5 separate regions of the Homo sapiens genome follow, and all the other regions are linked to region 3. Evidence: promoter capture Hi-C in 16 types of primary human blood cells and fetal thymus (Javierre and others, 2016). All regions are on one chromosome and are shown on one strand. The core of a region is centred on a gene start or on the middle of the fragment in contact, and the rest is flanking DNA. Distances in the headings are between cores, read along the strand shown.

Evidence for each region. Contacts are between HindIII fragments. The CHiCAGO score rates a contact against its expected background, and 5 or more counts as called.
Region 1: the fragment with the promoter of HNF1A-AS1 here is called in contact with the fragment with the promoter of CABP1 in region 3 in 2 of 17 cell types (erythroblasts and monocytes); the score reaches 7.0 in erythroblasts.
Region 2: a contact is called between a fragment that was not itself captured here and the fragment with the promoter of CABP1 in region 3, in 1 of 17 cell types (naive CD8 T cells). The highest score is 5.1, in naive CD8 T cells.
Region 4: a contact is called between a fragment that was not itself captured here and the fragment with the promoter of CABP1 in region 3, in 1 of 17 cell types (naive B cells). The highest score is 5.4, in naive B cells.
Region 5: the fragment with the promoter of MSI1 here is called in contact with the fragment with the promoter of CABP1 in region 3 in 1 of 17 cell types (total CD8 T cells); the score reaches 5.2 in total CD8 T cells.

What each region holds. Positions count from the first base shown.
Region 1 is chr12:120,970,067-120,974,542 of GRCh38, forward strand. HNF1A-AS1 (HNF1A antisense RNA 1) reads right to left here and starts at 2,226. Exons shown (of 1, transcript NR_024345.1): 1 at 1-2,226. RefSeq lists an enhancer at 2,819-3,346. The HindIII fragment of the contact is 11,110 bases long and covers 1-4,476 here.
Region 2 is chr12:121,116,301-121,120,871 of GRCh38, forward strand. It overlaps LOC105370030 (a long non-coding RNA gene), which reads left to right. Exons shown (of 3, transcript XR_007063494.1): 2 at 473-582; 3 at 3,149-3,406. Among named protein-coding and RNA genes, the nearest start is that of P2RX7, 14 kb to the right of the region's middle. The HindIII fragment of the contact is 9,656 bases long and covers 1-4,571 here.
Region 3 is chr12:120,637,647-120,641,899 of GRCh38, forward strand. It overlaps CABP1 (calcium binding protein 1), which reads left to right and starts at 2,980. Exons shown (of 6, transcript NM_001033677.2): 1 at 2,980-3,693. The coding sequence starts at 3,040. CABP1-DT (CABP1 divergent transcript) reads right to left here and starts at 2,876. Exons shown (of 2, transcript NR_183426.1): 1 at 2,404-2,876. RefSeq lists an enhancer at 867-1,368 and silencers at 2,840-3,139, 3,360-3,459, 3,470-3,639, 3,860-3,959. The HindIII fragment of the contact is 19,814 bases long and covers 1-4,253 here.
Region 4 is chr12:121,061,924-121,066,479 of GRCh38, forward strand. All of the region lies in intron 3 of LOC105378258 (a long non-coding RNA gene), which reads right to left. Among named protein-coding and RNA genes, the nearest start is that of OASL, 25 kb to the left of the region's middle. The HindIII fragment of the contact is 6,035 bases long and covers 1-4,556 here.
Region 5 is chr12:120,366,230-120,370,857 of GRCh38, forward strand. MSI1 (musashi RNA binding protein 1) reads right to left here and starts at 2,935. Exons shown (of 15, transcript NM_002442.4): 1 at 2,804-2,935; 2 at 2,604-2,644; 3 at 1,963-2,044; 4 at 1,779-1,863. The coding sequence starts at 2,862. The HindIII fragment of the contact is 14,859 bases long and covers 1-4,420 here.

The sequences.
Region 1 (4,476 bases), core at 976-3,475, 330 kb after region 3:
ACCTCGGCCTCCCAAAGTGCTGGGATTACAGGCATGAGCCACCGCTCCCGGCCAAAACTTTTCTTTTTAAAATAAGTTTAGTTTTAAAAAAGTGAGTTGACAGGAGCAAAACTGCTAAGTAAATAATGCAAAAGGCAGTGGTGCTCAAATATGGGAAAATAATATGCAGGTGATACCAGAGTCTTGCCTTTGGGAAATGCAGACCCAGGTCCTTTTGTCTTTAGAGCTCACCGGCAATGCGAGGTGTTTCAGGTAGAAGGAACAGCATCAATGGGGTGTTGGCTAGTGTTTAACAGCTGGCTCTCTGAAAAAGCAAAATAAAACACACACACACCAAATCTGATGGTCTGTTTCCATGATGTGAGTACCTCCAGCTGGGCCGAACTGACATCACTGAACACAGTGGAAAGTGATGACTGCAGTTGTCTCTCCTGGGAGCTTCAACACAGTACAGGCTGACAAAAGTGGGCAGGGGGTAAGGGCAGGTGGTGGGAGTGGCCTCTACGCCAGAGAAGGGAATGGAGAGGTCAGGCTGGCTAGAGAGTGGGGTTGAGTCGTCCATGCCCTTGAATGCCAGGATGAGGGCTAAAGAGTCAAATGGAATGGGTGACTTCATATGCAGAAGTTTTTACAAGAGAAGAGAACTCAGTTTGGCCAAGAGAAGTGGGGTCGTCATGTTGGTAATCACGTAACAGTGATCGTTCAGTCATGCGGAATGCTTTCAAGGTGTTGGACACTGTTCATTTTTTATTTTTAGTTTTTGAGGCAGGGTCTCACTCTGTCGCCCAGGCTGGAGTGCAGTGGTGCAATCTTGGCTCACTGCAACCTCTGTCTCCTGGGTTCAAGCGATTCTTCTGCCTCAGCCTCCCTAGTAGCTCGGATTACAGTTGTTTGCCACCACGCCCGGCTAATTTTTGTATTTTTAGTAGAAATGAGGTTTCGCCATGTTGGCCAGACTGGTCTCGAACTCCTGACCTCAAATGATCCACCTGCCTCGGCCTCCCAAAGTGCTGGGATTGCAGGTGTGATCCACCACACCTGGCCGCTTGCAGGGTGTTGGACACTGTGGATATCACCTCATTCATTCTCCTAACAACCCAAGAGAAGAGGAACTGAGGCAAAGAGAAGTTAAGCAAGTTGCCCAAGGCCATACGGCTAGTAAACGGCAGAACGAGGCTCAAACCCAGGCACTCTGGCTCTAGAGTGTGTGTTCCTAACCACTGTGCTCTAGCACCTCGGAACCTTAGTCTCTTCATCTGCAAAATCAGCACTGAGGTGACAAGGCCAACGAGCAGAGGGTTGGAGTTACCCAGAACAACAACAACAACAAAAGTAATAGTAACACATATTTGGTCAAGGCTTAGATTCTGGCGTCATGGGGATCTGGGTTCAAATCCTAATTCTGCCTTAGCCGATTAGGGTCCCTATCCTCTTAAAGCCTTGGTTTCCTTATCTGTAAAATGGGGATATCATGAAGCTGTTAGATGTTAAATGAGAAAATGAATGAGAAAATTGCATGTACTGTCCATAAAGTTGAAAAGATAATAGGGGTGGGAAGGAGAACAGTCCGAGTTTGAATGCAGGTGGGCCCTGGGGCATTGTCTGGACTGAAGGACAAGGGTCAGTTGAATTGCCAAAGAGCTCTGAGACTGGCTGAAGGGACACTCGTCTTGTGCTAGCTGCTAAGACCAAGGGGAAGCCTGTGCCTCGCCCGAATTTTAGTCTTGCAAACAGCTGCTCACCCAGTAGGAGAGAATTGTGATAAAACTCATAGCCACCATTTCTTGAATATCTACTATGCCCCGGGACACAGCAGACTATTTTAGAGAATTTGCGAAGGAAACACAGTGACATCTGTTGGACACCTTGCAAACTACCAGCTCAGGATAGTTAAATTTGAATGTTAGATGGAGGGAACTTCCTTTCCACAATGACATGATTTTGTAAAGCTGAGTGTATGGCAGTTGTCATGATTAAAAGCAAGTGCCATGCAGAAGTTATTGTGTAACAGGAAATGAGATTAGATAGCGTCCAATCTAATCTCAAGGTTTGAGTAGCTGTGGACAGCCCAACAGGCACAGGCCTCCCGTTAGTACATCCATACGAGAAGTTAAGAATGAGTGAAAATAGTTTTTTTTTTTTTAATTTATGTGCATTATTTTTTTCAAGCAGCTACCTTGTTAGGACATACTTAATAGTTATCTTGGCCTACCTACTGCACTTACTAAACAACTGTTCACTTTTTAATTTTTAATTTTCAGATTTTTTTGAGACGGATTGTTACTCTATCGCCCAGGCTGGAGTGCAGTGGCGTGATCTCTGCTCACTGCAACCTCCGCCTCCCGGGTTCAAGCTATTCTCCTGCCTCAGCCTCCTGAGTATCTGGGACTACAGGTGTGCGCCACCACATCCAGCTAATTTTTGTATTTTTAGTAGAGATGGGGTTTTACCATGTTGGCCAGGCTGATCTGGAACTCCTGACCTCAGGTGATCCACCTGCCTCGGTCTCCCAAAGCGCTGGGATTACAGGTATGAGCTACCATGTCCGGCTGTTCCTTTTTTTTTTTTTCTTTTTCTTTTTTTTTTGAGACGGAGTTTCTCTCTGTCACCCAGGCTGGAGTGCAGTGTCATGATCTCAGCTCACTGCAACCTCTGCCTTCTGGGTTCAAGTGATTCTCCTGCCTCAGCCTTCCGACTAGCTGGGATTATAGGTGCCCACTGACAAGCCTGGCTAATTTTTGTATTTTTAGTAGAGACGGGTTTTCACCATGTTGGCCAGGCTGGTCTCGAACTCCTGACCTCAAGTGATCCACCCACTTCGGTCTCCCAAAGTGCTGGGATGACAGGCATGAGCCACTGCGCCCAGCCACTGTTCGCTTTTTTTCTCAGTGGTTCTCTAGTCCATTGCCTTAACCACTCACCATGACTACAGCTCTTATTTGCAGTGACTCTCAAGAATGCAAATGCAAATGCCATTCCTGACCTCGAGTTAATTCAGCTTTGTCCCCTGAGCATGGGGGAAAGGCAGGCTGGGGGCTGGAACTTTCTGCTTGTGTACCTATCTCTTTAGACTCTGGAGGCTCCTCCCCAATCTCTGTCATTCCCTCTCCAACCAAATCCACCTGCCGTCCCAGACTCAAATGCTCAGCCACCTAACTGCCTGAGGACCCAGCAGTTAATGAGTTTACATGCTGGGGGCAGGAGTCAGGGCCAACACTCCTTGGTTCCTCTGGCTCCCTGGAAAGGGAAAGTCACCAAGAGGCAGCTGCAGGCAGCAAAGAGAATAAGCAGGAGAACCTCAAAGCCACAAAGGGACAGCACACAGCATCTTCCCTGTTTAGCCTGGACTTGAGAATGCTGTCCCCAGCAGTAAGCTGCTCAACCTCAAAGCAACTTGCACGGGGGTTTACAAAAAAATGCACTTGGCCGGGCACGGTGGCTCACGCCTATAATCCCAACAGTTTGGGAGGCCGAGGTGGGTGGATCTTTTGAGGCCAGGAGTTTGAGACCAGCCTGGCAAACATGGTGAAACCCTGTCTCTACCAAAAATACAAAAATTAGCCAGGCATGGTGGTGTGTGCCTGTAGTCCCAGCTACTCAGGAGGCTAAGGTAGGAGGATTGCTCGAACCCAGGAGGCAGAGGTTACAGTGAGCTGAGATCGCACCACTGTACTCCAGCCTGGGTGACAAAGTGAGGCTCTGTCTCAAAAATAAAAATAAAACATAAATGCACTGGAGGAAAGAGGGTACCACTCTCCTTAAGGCGGGGGCTGCCAACTTGTCCTGCACAGCCCGTCCGCCTGCCTCAGGTGGACTTAAAGCCCAGCTCTGAGGGACTCTGAGCAGTCATTTAACCTCTCTGAGCCTCTCTTTCCTCCCCTGCAGAAGGGGGATTATAACAGTTCCTAATTCATGAGTTGTTCTTGGAGTGAAATACATTACTGGCCAGGTGAGATGGCTCATGCCTGTAATCCCAACACTTTGGGAGGCTGAGGTGAGAGGATTGCTTGAGCCCAGGAGTTCGAGACCAGCCTGGGCAACAAAGCAAGACCCCCATCTCTAAGAAAAGTAAATAAATAGGCAGGGTGCAGTGGCTCACCCCTGTAATCCCAGCACCTTGGGAGGACGAGGTGGGCAGATGGCTTGGGCTCAGGAGTTTGAGACCAGCCTGGGCAATGTGGCAAACTCTTGTCTCTACTAAAAAATACAAAAATTAGCGAGGCATGGTGGCACACGCTTGTAGTCCCAGCTATTGGAGAGGCTGAGGTGGGAGGATCACGGGAGCCCCAGAAGCATAGGTTGCAGTTTGCCAAGATTGTGCCACTGCACTCCAGCTCGGGCGACAGAAGGAGACCCTGTCTCAAAAAACAAACAAAAAAGATAAATATATAAATGAAGCTGGGCATGATGGTGCGTACCTGTAGTTCCAGCTACTTGGGATGCTGAGGTGGGAGGATTGCTTGAAGCCAGGAGTTC
Region 2 (4,571 bases), core at 2,072-4,571, 480 kb after region 3:
CAAGGAGGACGCATTAATTGTGCTCAGGAATAATTGCCACATCAGATACAAAGTGAGAAGCCACGTTATGAAGGGACACAAAGATGCTAGATTAGCCAAGACTCTTGGTCAAAAGTGATATGTATGCCTGCTCCAATTGGCTTAAGCAATAAAGGGAGGTTATTGGCTCCTAAATCTAGTGAGGTTTCAGGTATGGCTTGATCAGTGTGTTCAAATGATGTCATCAGAAATCCCTCCATCATTACCCTCTGCCTCTGGTTTTCTCTGAGTCAACTTAATTCCCTGCTGGCATGACGGCCACCAAGAGCTTTAGGCTTATGTCCTGCCAGCTTAGCAACTCCAACTCAAAGAGCACCACTTTTTCAATGATTTTAGCCAAAATTCCAAGACTTGTCTCAGACCAACCTGAATCATGTGCCTGCTCTTGAACAAAGCACAGTAGCCAGGGAAAAATTGTGCTTTGATTATCTAGGACTGGATCCTGGACCTGCCCCTGGGACTTGCGGAAGGGGACAGCTCAATCTGAGCCATATCAACTGAGAACACAGGAAGCATGGTCCTACCAAGAGATGTCTATTCCAGGTATGGTGGAGCCTCAGAGGACAGCATGACTCTCGTTCAGCTGGTGGATCAGGGAATGGTCCAATAAGCCACAGCTGTGGATATGAAGGTCTGTTGATTTCAGATTGAGCTATAGGGGGATACTGGGCATGGCAGAAAAATCTATCAATCTCTGCTATAGTTAAATATTTGAATATTGGATTGTTTGCAGATCTTGTGAAATCAGTGACCTCTGGGTCATGTAGAAACCCAGCACATTCCCACAGGACACAGCCTAGCAGTTGATCAGAGCAGTAGTTCATACCTGAGACCCTGGATTTTCAGACCCTCCCCCAGGCCCCACCAGCCTCTGTCAGTGCCAAGCTGGACGGAACAAACCACATGAGGTTGGTCAGGCCTCTACCCCATGGAAAAACACAGAATGGTGATTTTTTGCCTGTACATTCCTGGACAAATAAATTCTCTTTTGGGAGCTTTTTCCTGGCTGGGCTATGTTATATGCCTCAGAGCTGCCCAGATCCCCTGGAAACCCAAAGATTTCCTTCCATGTGTAGGACTCATTCAGCCCCAGCTCAGAGGACTGTTTCATGGGTACTGGTGGCAGGAATTCTTGGTTGTCTTCAATGTCTGGCTCCCTGATTTTCGGTAGGGAACATGGTCAGCAGAATGAGGATGGCATTTCCTACCTTCTACTGCAGGTAGGTGTGACCATGTGACTACGCTCTGGCCAATGACCTGCAAGTGGCAGTGACAGATCCCATCCTTCAAGGGAGGAACATGCCTTCTCTTTCTCCTTTCCTCTTTCTTCCAGGCTTTTAATTTTTTATTGATTTATTGATTTTGAAAAATGGAGTCTTGCTCTGTCACCCAGGCTGGAGTGTAGTAGTGCAATCTCCGCTCATTGCAACCTCCACCTCCTGGGTTCAAGCAATTCTCCTGCTTCAGCTTCCCAAATAGCTGGGATTATAGGCACGTGCCACCACGCCCAGCTAATTTTTTGTATTTTTAGTAAAGATGAGGTTTCACCATGTTGGCCAGGCTGGTCTCGAACTCCTGACCTCAGGTGATCCACCTGCCTCAGCCTCCTAAAGTGCTTCCAGCCTTTTTAGAATTCAGTTCTGGTGGGAACCATTTTGGATCATGCTGATGAAGGTAACACCATAGAGATGGCAGAGCTGGGGTTGGGTCTGGTGACTCACGCTTGTAATCTTACCACTCTGGGAGGCCGAGGTGGGAGGATTGCTTGAGCCCAGGAGTTTGAGACCAGCCTGGGCAACATAGTGAAACCTCATCTCTACAAATAAACTCTTGGCTAAAGCAATCCTCCCACCTCAGGCTCCCAAGTAGCTAGGCTACAAGCACACACCACCATGCCTAATTAAAAAAAATTTTTTTTTGTAGAGACAGGGTCTCGCTATGTTGCCCAGGCTGGTCTTGAACTCTTGGCCTCAAGTGATCCTCCTGCCTTGGCCTCCCAAATTGCTGGGATTACAGGCATGAGCCGCTACACATGGCTCATATTCTCAATAGAGCAGTCCCAATTGGCCACTGACCAGCCAATAGTCTTGCTCTCCTGGGCAGATGTTCACCCTGGTCCAATAAGCCACAGCTATGGATATGAAGGTCTGTGATCTCAAATTGAGCTAGAGGGGGAAGATGGGCATGGCAGAAAAATCTATCAATCTCTGCTACAATTAAATATCTGAGGTCAGACATGGTGGTTCACGCCTAGAAACCTAGCACTTTGGGAGGCTGAGGTGGGTGGATCACGAGGTCAGGAGTTCAAGACCAGCCTGAACAAGATGGTGAAACCCTGTCTCTACTAAAAATACAAAAATTAGCTGGGCATGGTGGCAGGCACCTGTAATCCCAGCTACTCGGGAGGCTGAGGCAGAGAATTGCTTGAACCCAGGAGATGGAGGTTGCAGTGAGCCGAAATCGTGCCATTGCACTCCAGCCTGAGCGACAGAGCGAGATTCTGTCTCAAAAAAAAAAAAAATTGAATATTGGATTATTGAAACTTGGCATAGAGCAGCCACTGTCCTTGTCTTCTAAGAGCTTATATCATATTATTATTTTATTATTATTAATAACATATCATTATTAATTAATAGCTGCAGTTCACTGAACAGTATTAGATACCAGGCATGGTGCTTGTAATTAGTCATCTCATTGAATTCCCTTAATGAAAATTAGGTAGTCAGAGACCTTTCTTCATGGATCGCAACCCCAGGGGCATGTGGGATTTCAGAGATGTGTTTTGGGGAAAGAGGTATAATTATTCAACTTTCAGTTAATTAGCCACTTAGAGAAATTAAGTGGTAGGTGGAGTTGTAAAGGAAGGCAAAGTACTGGGCAGGCAGATGCTAAGTGGGCGACTGTTCTAGGCATAAGAGAAATGGGGGTGGGTATGAAAAAAAGCAAGAGAAAGAGAGAGAGAGAGAGAGAGACAAGGGAAATTTGGTTTGACTGGATAAAAAGGCCAGTGAAAAGAGGGAGTTTTGGTAAGAGCTATGCCATGGGCAGGGAGAAGTACAGAGATCTTCAATCATGGACTCTATCGCCATCCCCTCTTCTCTTCCTGCAGGTGGGCAGAACCAAGGTGCCCTCCCTACACCTTCCTGGGGCCTCCAGCGATCCTGAGCTCAGCCTCCTGACCTGCAGACCCCTCAGCTCTGGCCCTCACGTCCTGCTTGCTGTACCTGCTTTATCCCATATCACCATCTCCATTCCTCAGCATAGTGACAATCCCAGTTCCTACCCATTCCACTGGCTTCTCCATTTGGCTTGGAGCTCTTTAGCTGGATTGAGACGACTACTCTGATGAGTGCCATGTCACTGGCTCAACAAAATGGGCCCAAGTGAGTCAATGTCATTGACATGAAGGTGCTGTCAGTTTGGTGGGAACCAAGGGAATGAGACTGTGTTTTAGCTGCGTTCGTTTGAACAGTTACACACTTAGGGCTTCTTATGCGGATGCTCAGAGAGAAATATGGAAGACGAGATCTCGTAGAAAACAAGAAGACATGTTGTAAATGAGTCAGGCCTCCTGGAGTCCAGGACTAGGGAGGAACTCTTTATTGAGGATCACTCGAGGGAGTCTTGGGGCTGGTGGTCTTCACGCCACAGCCCCATAACTCAGCTCCTCTCTTCCTTCTCTCAGTCTCTCTGCTTCTGTTTTTTGTCTCATGTCCTAAATGTCCAACTATTCAGCATAACTTTATTCTGCTTCCCCTCTCTATCCTCTGTAGCAAAATGCACTGTTGGAATTACATTTTTATTTTTATTTTTATTTTTATTTTTTTAAGACGGAGTCTCACTCATTGCCTAGGCTGGAATGCAGCGGTGTGATCTCGGCTCACTGCAACCTCCACCTCCAAGGTTCAAGTGATCCCCTTGCCTCAGCCTCCTGAGTAGCTGGAACTACAGATGCCTAACACCATGCCCAGTTAATTTTTATATTTTTAGTAGAGATGGGATTTCACCATGTTGGCCAAGGTGGTCTCGAACCCCTGACCTCAGATGATCTGTCTGCCTTGGCCTCCCAAAATGCTGGGATTACAGGCATGAGCCAATGTGCCCAGCTGGAATTAAATTAATAATTTTTATTTCTGCTTTAGCGAGAGAGGCGGTGACTCACTGATACAAGGAAGATATTTCCCCTTCCAAGGGTGATGTATTCAGCTTTTGGGTTTAAAAGGAGATGCTATCAGGCACGCGTGGCTATCCTGGCAGATTACATAAAAATACAGAAGAAATGTTCTTTGTGTTAAAAGAATAAAAAAGAAAAAACAAAACGTGTTTCCTCAAAAACTTAAATACAGAATTACCACATGACCCAGCAATTCTACTACTGGCTATATCCCCCCAAAGAATTGAAGGCAGGAACATGAATAGGAATTTGTAGAACCATGTTTATACCAGCATTATCCACAGTAGCCAAAAAGTGGAAAGAAACTAAATGTTCATCTACGGATTAACAGACAAACAAAATGTGGAATATCTGTACA
Region 3 (4,253 bases), core at 1,730-4,229:
TATTCCCTCCTCAGGGCTTTTGAACAGCCTCCCTCTGCCAGGGAAGCTCTTCTCCCAGATATATACATGACTTCCTCCTTTACTTCATTTGAGTTTCTACTCAGATATTCCCTCTGCAGAGAGGCCTTCCCTAATCGCTCTCTAAAAGAGCACCCTAAGTTGGGCACAGTGGTTCATGCCTGTAATCCCAGCATTTTAGGAGGCCGAGGTGGGAAGATTGCTTGATGTCAGGAGTTTAAGACCAACCTGGCCAACATAGCAAGACCCTGTCTCTATGTAAAAATATTAAATAAATAAATAAAATAGCACCGCCCGTTAAACCCTAGTCTCTTACCTGCTTTATTTCTCCCCATGGCAGAAACACCACCAGTTTGTCACCATTACTTTTCCATGCGTTTATGTATTTGTTTATTTGTTGCTGAGGATAGAGACCATTTTGTTTGCTATCATATCCCTGGTACCTAGAACACTGCCTGGCAGATAACAGGCACTCAATTATTTGTTGAATGAATGGATCAATCTTTGTATCCAAGATGACTACTGCAGTGCCTGGTTGGATACATATTTGTCAAATAAGTGACCAAATTAATACACTTTACAAATGAAATGGAATCCTGGCATACATCCAGGATTATCTGGGATATGAGTGAAGGTGTTTCATCCATTTGCTTCATGGACATAATTTTTATTTATTTACTCTAGTAATCATAGGTAACATAATCAGATTCTTCAGTTTTTCAAAAACTAGTTGGTGACCGAGGTCTTGCCCAAAAATATTTAGGGCATTTCAGAAAGGTTACCAACAGTGGCACAGCAGGGATTTAGAATACCCAGCAGTCCTCTGCCTCTCATTGGCTCCTGAGGGTTTCTGATAAGGTTCTTTATCTCCTGTGATTTATATTGAATGTGCCTTTGTTTTTAATCCTGCCAAACACTGATTATTCTGAGGGCTGGAGCAGGTAAGACATTGACTGACCTCGAACTCAAAGGGTGGACTCATTACACCCTGCATATCCCAGAGGACCCTGCAATGAGCCTTCAGGGCTGCAACGCCCCAGGCTGCTTCAGGATTTGGGCTTTAGGAACCTGAGTGGCTTTGATATGGCAATTCAGTCCCTTAAGGGTAGCTGATCTGGGGAACAATTTGCCACACTTTCCTAGTTTACTTTAGCCTCTGGGCAGTTGCTTTCCCAGCCCATCCATTTTCCTTAATTCCTTGCCTATGGATAAGTAAAAGAGGCACACAGGGCCCAGCGCGGTGGCTCACGCCTGTAATCCCAGCATTTTGGGAGGCCAAGGCGGGCAGATCATGAGGTCAGGAGATCGAGACCATCCTGGCTAACATGGTGAGACCCCATCTCTACTAAAAATACAAAAAATTAGCTGGGTGTGGTGGCGGGTGCCTGTAATCCCAGCTACTCGGGAGGCTGAGGCAGGAGAATCGCTTGAACCTGGGGGGCAGAGGTTGCAGTGAGCCGAGATCGTGCCACTGCACTCCAGCCTGGTGACAGAGCAACACTCTGTAAAGAAGCAGACAGTGCAGAGAAGGATGAACTCTTGGCATGAGTGAAGTGTAATATCGGCAATCTGTTTGTGTACCCTTCTTTTTTTTTTTTTTTTTTTTTTTTTTTGAGACAGGGTCTCACTCTGTTGCCCAGGCTGGAGTGTAGTGACCCAATCTCGGCTCACTGCAACTTTCACTTCCCGGGTTCAAGTTATTCTCATGCCTACAAGTGGCTGGGATTACAGGCGCCCACCACCACGCCTGGCTAATTTTTGTATTTTTAGTAGAGACAGGGTTTCACCATGTTGGCCAGGCTGGTCTCGAACTCCTGACCTCAAGTGATCCGCCGGTCTTGGCCTCCCAAAGTGCTGGGATTACAGGTGCGAGCCACTGTGCCCGGCCTCGTGTATCCTTTTAATGAGGCCGAGCGGTGACAAGACTGTGGATGGCATTGGGGCCAGGGACCAGAACAGGGAGAGCCTGGGAGGAACCCCTCCAGCCCCCCGCAAAGCTCAAGCACCGGATACTAAAGAAGAATGGTAGATGGGGCCTCACGATGTGCAGGGGGAAGGGAACTGGCTTAACTGGATGGTCCCCTGTCCGAGCACTGGGCTAGGCCTTTTGTGTGCATAGTATCGTCTGCTGTTACCAAGAAATTAGTTATGCTTATCATCTGCATTTTACAGAAGAGGAGAACAAGGCTCAGAGAGGTTGATGACACCTGCCCAAGTTACCCAGATGGTAGGTGGCAGAGCTGGGATTTGAGATTCAGATAAGGCCTGGGACGCTCCCTGGCTGCCCACCGAGAGCAGGAATTTCTGTAGCATCTAGAAAGGCAGGAAGGTGAAAGAGGGGACAAGAGCTGGAGGGGGAGCAAATGGGTCCTACCTGAGACTTACCATCATCAGGTGCTGCCAGACCTGGCTTCTCTTCTATTCTGAGAACTGATATCCTGTGGCTGACTTACCAGGGTCGTCCTAGTCCCCCCGCACGGTATTGGGAGTGGAGGCAGCCCCACACGGAGGCGCTGGGAGACTTTCCTCCCAGCAGTGTCCTGTCACTGCATTCCGGCCCCTGCGTTTGTAGGCAGTGATGTCACAGAGTGCCTTCATGCTCCTCGGGTCTCCGGTTCTCCCCGGACCTCTGTAGTCCTCATTGCCAAAGTTGTACCCCCTGGGGAGTGCACCCTGCCTGCATTTCTGGAGGTTCGGGCGGTTCCGGGGCTCTGCAGGAGCCTCCAGGCGTGATAAAGAGCGCTGCCGGCACTCCCGGGGTCTCGGCCTCTTTGGGGCCCATTGCCAAGCCCCTTCCCTCCTCGTGCTCCCGCTCCGCGTTGCAGCGTCCCCTTCGCCGCCAGGGGCCGCCCGGAAGCGGGGCTCCCCCAGGGCGGGGCGGGGCAAGGGGCGGGGCGCGGCGGTACCTGGGCCGCCAGGGAGCCGGGGGTGGGCTCTCCGGGGACAGCCGGCAGCGCCCCCAGATCTGCACCGCCAGCCGCCGGGAGCTCCGGGCTCCGGGCGTAGAGGCTGCGCTGTCACATGGGCGGCGGCGACGGGGCCGCATTTAAGCGGCCGGGGGACGGCGCCCGCCTCCAGCGCGTCCTCGGGCTTGGCTCCCGCCGGGAGCCCCGTTCTCTGCCCGCCGGGGGCCCCGCGCCGCGCCGCACCGCGCCGCCCCCGCCGGGCCATGCGAGCGCGGGCCCCGCCGCGATGAGCTCGCACATCGCCAAAAGCGAGTCCAAGACGTCGCTGCTGAAGGCGGCGGCGGCGGCGGCGAGCGGGGGCAGCCGGGCTCCCCGCCACGGCCCTGCCCGGGACCCGGGGCTGCCTAGCCGCCGGCTACCCGGCTCCTGCCCGGCGACGCCGCAGTCGTCCGGGGACCCCAGTTCGCGGAGGCCCCTGTGCCGGCCGGCGCCGCGAGAGGAGGGCGCGCGGGGGAGCCAGCGTGTGCTCCCCCAGGCGCACTGCAGGCCCCGGGAGGCGCTGCCGGCCGCGGCGTCCCGACCTTCGCCGTCGTCGCCGCTGCCGCCGGCCCGCGGGCGGGATGGGGAGGAACGGGGACTGTCCCCGGCGCTCGGCCTCCGGGGCTCTCTGCGAGCCCGGGGCCGCGGGGACTCCGTTCCAGCCGCCGCGTCCGAGGCGGACCCGTTCCTCCACCGGCTGCGCCCCATGCTCAGCTCCGCCTTTGGCCAGGTAAGGGCCGCGCCTCCCGTCAGCGCTCCCGGGAAAGGCGCTCGGGACCCTGCCGGCCGCGGTTGCGCGTCCACAGCCTCCTCCCGCGGCCCGTGGTCCCCCACGGATCACGCCTCGGCTCACCTCGTCCTCCCCGGGCCGGCGCCCTTGCCGGCACTCCTCCTCCCCGTGCCTGATTCAGCACCCCGTGCGCTGTCCACGCTCCGGGCCTCTTGGGGCAAGGCCCTCCCCGCTAGCCTCCCTCATACCCGCCAGAACCCGCCAGTCCTGGAAGAGAGCGACCTCTACGACCGTCCTGGAGATTTGCGGGGGTCAAGGAGGGGCGCTCCGAGCAGGTGGCGCCAAACCCACTCCTCTGGCCTCTGGCCAGTACCGCCAGGGAGGGACTCAGGAGAGCAAGCGGTTTGGAGTCTGGGGGTCAAGAGAGGGGACCTCAGAGAACACAGAATTACTTGAGGGCGAGGGACACTGGCCACTGCCTATCATGTCCCTGAAGGCCTGAGAAAAGTTAGGAGATCCAAAAATATGAGGAAAGAGAAGAGGTGTCTGGGTAGGCATGG
Region 4 (4,556 bases), core at 1,597-4,096, 420 kb after region 3:
CATTTTTGGTATATGTACTCATATTTTAAAAACTGTGAATTCCAATATATATTCTTAATAGGAAACTGCGACATTTTTGTCAATTTTCCTCTCTTCCACAAGATGATGCTCCACACCCACCTAAAACAATCACCATTTGTAGTTCCTAGGATCCTAGTACAGAAGAGACAGAGGGGATCTGCTTAATCCTTGTTTTTCAGAAGGCAGACAGGAGCCCAGAGTGTTTACCAGGGCTCTTTGACATTATGGTATTGATATTAACTCCAATAGCTATACTTATCAAGCACTTCGTGTATACCAGGCTCTCTACACAGTTTATTTTATTCTTTATTTTTTTTGAGATGGGATCTGGCTCTGTCACCCAGGCTGGAGTGCGTGGCATGATCTGGGCTCACTGCAACCTCACCTCCCAGGCTCAAGTGATTCTCCCACCTCAGCCTCCTGAGTAGCTGAGACTACAAGTATGCATCACTGAGCCTGGCTAATTTTTGTACTTTTTTTTTTTGTAGAGATGGGGTTTTGCTATGCTGCCCAGGCTGGTCTCAAACTCCTGGGCTCCAGTGATCCGCCTGCCTTGACCTCCCAAAGTGCTGGGATTAGAGTCGCGAGCCTCCACACCCAGCCTCTTTTCACAGTTTAGTTCCCATAATCCCCACAAGACTCTGTGATGCAGGTTCACACCATGTTACATTATGAAGAAATCGAGTCTCAGCAAGATGATGTGGCCTGCCCAGAGTCACACACCAAAGAAGTGGACAAGCTGTGATTCAAACCCAGGTTCTCTGATTCTAAATGCCAGAGGTTTACCCACGACATTATCTTACTGCCCAAGGCACTTATTATTTATTGAGCTCCTACTACGTGCTGGGCACTGGGCGAGGCTTGGAGAATACATAAATGAATAAGGCAGCCCCATTCTACGGGCAGTTTGTTATGTGTCTTCTCTACTGGGAATCTTCAGCGTGAGAAGCACGTGGTCCCAGGGTCTAGCACATTTCTTGGCACACAATGGGGCCTCAGTTAATGTTGGCTGAATAAATGAATGAATGACACCATGTTTCCTAGGAAGCAAAAGCACTTCAATCTTGTGACTATTTTTTAGTCCATAAAACGGATAGATGGTGGAGGACAGAGAACTTCCTGGTGACCTTCTGCTTGCTTCGTCAAGGCATCTATCAAGGGTCCCCATCTTTGAGTATGGTGGCTCAACCACAGTGGACCATCCCAAAGGTCCTCTCTGGTTCTGCATTGCAGACACTCTGTGCATGGTGGTGCGGGACCTCCTTCCTGGAGGTGCTTGCTTCTTCATTTACCCCAGTGTTTCTTAACATTTTGAAGTCTTGTGAGCACCAGAGAAAATGATGAATGCAAGGGGCCCTCCCTCTAAAAAACATGTTAATGCTAATATTTTGCATGCAATTTCAGGGGCTTCCTGGACCCCAAGTTAAGAATCTCTGCTATGGGGCCGGACACGATGGCTCATGTCTGTAATCCCAGCACTTTGGGAGGTTGAGGCGGGTGGATCACTTGAGGTCAGGAGTTTGAGACCAGCCTGGCCAATATGGTGAAACCCCATCTCTACTAAAAATACAAAAGAATTAGTCAGGCGTGGTGGTGGGCGCCTGTAATCCAAGCTGCTCGGGAGGCTGAGGCAGGAGAATCGCTTGAACTGGGGAGGCAGAGGTTGCGGTGAGCCAAGATCGTGCCACTGCACTTCAGCCTGGGCGTCAGACTCTGTCTCAAAAAAATAAAAAAAGAATCTCTGGGCCGGGCGCGGTGGCTCACGCCTGTAATCCCAGCACTTTGGGAGGCCGAGGCGGGTGGATCATGAGGTCAGGAGATCGAGACCATCCTGGTTAACAAGGTGAAACCCCGTCTCTACTAAAAATACAAAAAATTAGCCGGGCGCGGTGGCGGGCGCCTGTAGTCCCAGCTACTCGGGAGGCTGAGGCAGGAGAATGGCGTGAACCCGGGAAGCGGAGCTTGCAGTGAGCCGAGATTGCGCCACTGCAGTCCGCAGTCCGGCCTGGGCGACAGAGCGAGACTCCGTCTCAAAAAAAAAAAAAAAAAAAAAGAATCTCTGCTGTGGAAGATGCTTTTTTTTATTTTTCAAAATTTTTATTAGAGATGGAGGGGCGTCTCGCTATGTTGCCCAGGCTGGAGTCAAATTCCTGGGCTCAAAGGATCTTCCTGCTTCATTCAGCCTCCTGAATAGCTGGGATTACAGTGCATGCCACCATGCTTGGCTTCTCCTGTGGAAGATTCTTGAGGACCAAAAGACATCCTAAACAAGAGTCACATCTCAAACCTTTTTATTGAATTCCTGTTTTTTGTGCATCATGCTGGGTGCTAAGGGATAGTGTAGGGAAAATCTCCAGCCTTCATATCAGTCAGAAGGGAGCCCTGGGGCAGCAGGGCATCTAGTCATCAGCCTCTCAGCTCTCAAGTCACATGTGGGACTGGGATCCGGGTGTTTCCCACCTCCCCAGTAAGCCTGCAACTTTTTCTTCCATCTGGCTCCCATTTTAGAGCCTTGCATATGTTTCTTCAAGGGAAGCCTGGATAATCCTGAATTGCCTCTAATAACCACATTCTTTTTTTTTTTAATTTTTTTTTTTTTTTTTTTTTTTGAGACAGAGTCTCGCTCTCGTTGCCCAGGCTGGAGTGCGGTGGTGGGATCTTAGCTCACTGCAACCTCTGCCTCCTGGGTTCAAATGATTCTCCTGCCCCAGACTCCTGAGCAGCTGGGATTACAGGCACAAGCCACCGCCCCTGGCTAATTTTTGTATTTTTTGTAGAGACAGGGTTTCGCCATGTTGACCAGGCTGGTCTTGAACTCCTGACCTCAGGTGATCCGCCTGCCTCGGACTCCCAAAGTACTGGGATTGCAGGTGTGAGCCACCGCGTCCGGCTGTAACCACATTCTTTAATTCTTGTTTCCAACAGGTATTCCCAGGAAGAACAAAAAGCGGTTCCACTCAGGGTTCTAAGTTCGAAGTTGCCCTCATCTCAACCATCATCAACAAAACGCCAGAATGATTTTCTTCTTCTTTTCGTTAATGGTAAAAATAAGATTTTGCCATTTGTTGGGAGCATACGTATTGAGCACGTTTGGGGAGCTTGTGACTCTGGGTCACAAAATAAGACTGGGTTTTTGGAAATGTGGGTGGATAAGGTGGAGTGAGAGGGGCGGGATAAGCTCATGGCTGGCTGCAAAAGCCTATCCAGGGTTTGTGGAGCTTCTAAAATTTTCTAGATCCCTTTAAAGAAAAATGACATAAAATAGTGAATAAAAATTTCAGCTCAAAAGTGATGTTGTTTCTGACCTATTTTCCTTGTCTCTGAACAAGTTTTTTTTTTTTTGGTTTTTTTTTTTAAATAACATTTCTTACAAGATAGATCTACTGGCTATAAATTACTGATGAATTTTGCCTCAATGCAATTCTCCATTTCCCTCATTCTTTCTGCATTTATGAAATGGAAATCTATATTCTTCCAAAATGCCCCACCATTTTTTGCTTACCTGAAAGTTCTTTATTTCTCTTTCACTTTTGAAGGATAATTTTGATAGGTACAGAATTCTAGGTGTGGGGGCTTTTTCTTTCAACACTAGGTATTTTACTCCACTCTCTTCCTTCTTATGTGGTTCCTGACAAGAAGTTCAACGTAATTCTTTTTTTTTTTTTTTCCCCTGAGACAGGGTTTCACTCTGGTGCCCAAGCTGGAGCACAGTGCCTTAATCTTGACTTACTGTAGCCTCAACCTCCCAGGCTCAAGTGAGCCTTCTGCCTCAGCCTCCCGAGTAGCTGGAACCACAGGCAAACACTGGCAAGCCTTGCTAATATTTCATATTTTTTGTAGAGATGGGGTTTCTCTATGTTGCCCAGGCTGGTCTCAAACTCCTGAGCTCAAGCAGTCCTACTGCCTTGGCCTCCAAAGTGCTGGGATTATAAGTGTGAACCACTGCACCCTGCCCAGTGTAATTCTTATACTAGTGCCTCTATGAGTAGTATGTATATTTTCCTTTGGCTTCTTTCAAAGTTTTTTTTTTTTCTTTTTCTTTTTTTTTTCGAGATGGAGTCTTGCTCTGTTGCCCAGGCTGGAGTGCAGTGGCGTGATCTTGGCTCACTGCAAGCTCTGTCTCCTGGGTTTAAGCAATTCTCCTGCTTCAGCCTCCTGAGTAGCTGGGACTACAGGCACCCATCACCTCGCCCAGCTAATTTTTGTATTTTTAGTAGAGACTGTTTCACCATGTTGGCCAGGCTGGTCTCGAACTCCTGACTTCAAGTGATCAGCCCACCTTGGCCTCCCAAAGCGCTGAGATTACAGGCCTGAGCCACTGTGCCCGGCTTCTTTCAAAGTTTTTATCTTTGATTTTACAAAATTTGAATATGATATGATGAGATATTGACTTCTTTGTATTTATCCTGTTTGGTGTTCTGAGATTCCTGGATCTATGGCTTGGTGTCTGTCAATAATTTTGGTGAGTTATCAGCCATTATTAGTTAAAATATTTCTTCTGCTTCTTTCATTTTTCTCCTTTTAGAATTCCCTTT
Region 5 (4,628 bases), core at 1,685-4,184, 270 kb before region 3:
GCCTCGTTCTAGGCAGCTGGCTCTGGCTTCTCTCTGAATGGCACAGACCAGGAACTAGCCTCCTACAGGCTCCCCCACTGGAATCTGTCCACAGAGATGGAACCTCCAAAATCCACACTGGGGCAATGCCTCCTCTCCTGCCAAGTCCCACTGGGCTCCAGGGAAAAATCACAACTGCCCATTTCTCCCGCCTGAAGTTTCAATTCCACACCTCCACGGACATGTCCATCCTTCTCTTTCTCCCAGAAGCAGCCGCCCCAGCCACCAGCGCACCACACACAGTCCCCCTACACAGACCCCGATGGGGAGATGGTACCCAAGCCACGATCCCACAGACCCACGCACACCCCATCCCTGACACACCCCACCTCCACTGTGACTCACAGCTGGCAACATAAATAAAACCCAACAAGTAAATAAAAGGTGAAAGTCAGAGCTCAAAATAGACTCCCCACAGTAAACCTCCCTCCCACCCCCTTTCCCAGGCTGGAGGACGCCAAACACAGACAAAGCCCTGGCCCTTTTCAGCCCCATCTCCTAAGGATGCTCATCTCACCCTCCTTCCTCCCTCATTCTCTTCCCCTTTATCAATCTTCCACTCCTCCATCCCCCAGCCCCTAAATCTCAGCTTCCTCAGCACTGCAGAAGCCATCAGTGCATTCTGAGGACAGGGGATGGTAGCAGAACAGGCAGCTTGATGGCAGATAATCACCAAAAACAATAGGCCACTGTCTCTCCATTTCCAGGCTTGGGTCACTCAGGCTGCGCCAAGAAGATCCTTTCAGAGCCGGCAAAGTTGAGGCCTGGCCTCATTTGCTCATTACTGCGAGCGGGAGCGGGAGCCACTGGGCAGAGATAACAGGAGCTGGGGACAGGCGGTAATTTGACAAATTCTTGGGCACAAGCAGCTATTGTTGCAGGTAAACGGGAGCCAGGGACTGACCCAAGCAGAGAGGCCCAAGGCTGGGGGACAGCAGGGAAGCATGGAGAGAAGAGATCCACACTATCCCTGCCCCCAGCAGACAGACACCCCCATCACATGGGAGTAACCCCCTCCTCTGACTTTTCTACTTTTCCATCTGCCCTGGAGCCAGCGCCCCCTGCAGGGTCTAAGACACGAAGGAGCTGTGGGACAACAGCAAAATGTTCCATGAGTTTGAATGCCAACCAAGCAGCTTCTCCTAAGATCTAGTCTTCCGAAGGGTCGTTTCCAGGCAAGCTAGAGCCTTTCTCATAAATCCCCTCCGTGGGCAAAGCAGGTCCCTGTCTTCCACACAAAGCAAGGAGCTCATTGACCAAAAGTCGGGGGAGGAGGGAAGGAGAGAGGGAGGGGGCTTCAAGGGATGCTTTGCCATTGGTCTGGATGAAGAGGGGGTGTCGCAGAGCCAAATACTAGTTAGAGTTCACAGAAGCCACCGGGTGGGTCAGTGCTACCCTGACTCACCCAATTTGGGCTGGGGGAGGGACCTAGCCCCACCCCAAGCTCTGCTCTGAGGCATCATGATTAGTACTTCTAGGGAGAGGGTGGCGGCTGCCTCTCCCCTCACCAGGACTAGGGGAGGGGGGATGTAGCATCTCATGGCAGGCCAGGGATTTTTCTCCTCCCTCTCCCCCCCAACTCTAGTGACAAAGTTTCAGAGCATGGCAGCCCTCTTACTCAGAAAAACTCCCTCCTTCCTCATGGACCCCGTCCAGCTGTCCCCTGGGGAGAGTCCTGACCCTCTCCTCCGGCAGCCTCCCTCTCCCAAAGGACCCCCGAAGCCCCGAGGGCCACTCACTGTTTTGGAGTCGAGCTCGTGCCGCGATTGCGCCAGCACTTTATCCACCCCCGCCTGGTCCATGAAAGTGACGAAGCCGAAACCCCTGCGCGCCGTAGTGAGGGAGAGGCAGATGGTTACAAGGCAGTGAGTGGCGGGTGGAGGGGGGCGAGCCGGGAGCAGGAGGAGGGGGTGAGGGGCTCACCTGGATCTCTTGGTCAGGGGGTCCCGCATCACCAGACACTCCTTCACCTCCCCGAACTGGCCGAAGTATTCGCGCAGCCCTTCTGTAACCACACACCCGCCTTCGGACCAGCCCGGGCCCCGCGCCCTTCCCCCCCCCCCGTCCTTTGCCCCCGGTGACCCCGGAGCGGCCCGGCCGCCCCCGCGCCAAGCTGCCCGCGCGTTCTCCACTGCCGCCGCCCCCCACCGCCCTCGCCCCGTTCCCGCTGAGCCTCCTGGCGCCCACCGGGGCCCCGGGAAGCCGAGGGCCGAGCTGGGCTGGAAGGGGGACGGCTCCGGCCGGGTTCCCGCCGCTCCGGGAGCAGCCTCACAAAAGTTTGAGCCGCAGGTGCGAGCGGAGTTGGCGCTGCCGCCGGCGGGTCCCGGGGGCCCAGCCCACCCCCCGATACCCCCTGAACCCCTCATCTGCTCCCCTCCACCCGCTGGGCCGGGTGCGCTCGCGGATCGCCCTGCGCTCTCGGGGTCTCCGGGCGGGGCGCGAAAGAGGGCGCGAGGGCGCCCGGGGTCAGCAGGGCGCAGGGCCGGGCTGGGGTGTCCGGGTCCGGGGCGCCGGGGGGTCCGGGGTGCCCTGCCGGACCGGCGGGCGCTCCCGGGCTCGCTCACCCTGCGTAGTCTGCCAACTGAGTCCCCCGATGAACATCTTGCTGCGGGAGGAGGAGAGACACAAAGGGCCCGCGTGAGCGCCGGGCGCCAGGGCGCAGGGGGCGCGGGCCCGGGCTCCGGGGAGGCCCGGCCGGACCCGGATCGGCCATGTTGGCGGGGCCGGGGCGGGCGCGGGCCAAGCAGGCCGGGCCGGGCCGTACCAGGGGTCGTGCGGCGAGTCCGGGGAGGCGAGGCCGGGCTGGGGCGCGTCAGTCTCCATCGGGAGCCGCGGGCGGCGCGGGCAGCGGAGCGGCGGCGGCGGCGGCGGCGGCGGCGCTCGGCGCGGGGCAGATGAGGAGCGCGGCGAAGGGGGCCGGACGGACAGGCCATGCTGCCCCCTCCCCCGACCCCGCTCGGGCGGGCGGGCGGGGACGGCCGAGGGGAGGGCCCGCCGGGGGCCGACCTGCCGGCTCCTCCCCCCGCCGCCCTGCGCGCATAAAGCCCCGCGCTCGCCCGCGAGCCCGGGCGCCCGCGGAGGCGGCGGCGCCGGGACCCCCTTCCCGCGGGGCTCCTGGGTCTCCGGGGCCGAGCGAGACCCCCGAATCCCGGTGCGGGCCGGGACCAGGGCGCGGCCGCACCCCCCACCCACCCCGGCGCGGGGGCCCGGCCGCGGGAACGCCCTCCCGGAATGAAGCGCTTCCCGGTGCCTTCAAGGTAGCTCGGTTCCGGATCGGGAACCCCCCCGGTCTTCCCTCTCAGGTCCCTGCTGTCCAGAATTGAAGAGAACCCCAATCTCCTCGGGTCGGGCGGGAGATAGCCCTAGTGCTCCCCAGTCCCCACATGCTCCATTTCCCCAGTCGGAGCGAGAAGCCGCCCTCAGAGCCCCCAGTTTCCTCCCAACCTAATTTACAGCCCCCCACCCCCACCCCAGGGCTCTAATTTAGAGCCCTCGCTCCGTTCCCAGGATCCCATATCCAGTTTGGGGGACCCACTCAGTGCCTCGCGTCCCGAGTGGGGAACCTCCATCAGCACCCCAGTAGAAACCGTATCCTCTTCCCCAATCCGTCCTCAGCCCTTGGTGTCCAAAGTGAGAGTCCCCCTTAGTTTCCCCAAATCCCTGCCGTCCACATTAGTGGACCCTATGGTCTGTTGAGAAAATCCCGCGCCCCAAGCCCGGGTTCTCAGTTTGCCGCCACCCCCACCTCCCGGTGTGAGGAGTCTCCCCTGGTTCTCTCCCTCCCTGGCCGGTTTTTGTGAGATCCATTCAGACTCCTGTCCTGATTCGGGAAACCCGGTTCCAGACACTCACCACCCCCACCACACCGAGGCTGGAGGAAAAGGCAGTGCCTCTTAGAGCCTCCTGTTTCCAGTTTAGGAGCCCAACGCCTCAGCTGTGCACCGTCCCCTCCGAATGACCCCCTTCTTTTGCAGAGGTCTAAGCTCCACCCCATCCCATTGGAAGAGCCTAAACTACCTACCCACTGCATTTGGAATGACTTCCCTCAGTCCCTCTTATTTTGAGGCTACTCCCCGTGAAGGCAAACACCTTCCTTTCTACCCCCATCTTCTGGGTCTCTGGGATCCCCCAGTACTTGCACCCAAGGCTCCTTGGAGTCACCTTACGTACCCCTAAAATTCCCTCCCTCCAGCCTGGGAACAACCCTGAGAAAGTATTCTGGTTCACCAGGGGAGCTGCGGGGCCACTCTCCTTATCCCCACCTCTCCTTATCCCCGCCTCTCCATATCCCCACCTCTCCATATTCCCACCTCTCCATATCCAAGCCTTAGGACCCTTCACTTCCCCAGCTGAAACCAGCCAAAAAAGGATCAAACCAGGAAGCTTAGGTGGCCAACACCCCTTCTCCCCATCCCTGCTGGGGGTCTCAGTGCCACACAAGCCCCTCCCTCCCAACTCACCTTCTACTCCTTCCCCCATCCCTACCTTAATCCATCCGGTGTAATCCAGTGACAACCCATGTTGACAAGCCCTTTGCTGTTCACCTTCACATTCCATCCTGAATTCAACACCTTTTATTCCTGGGCATC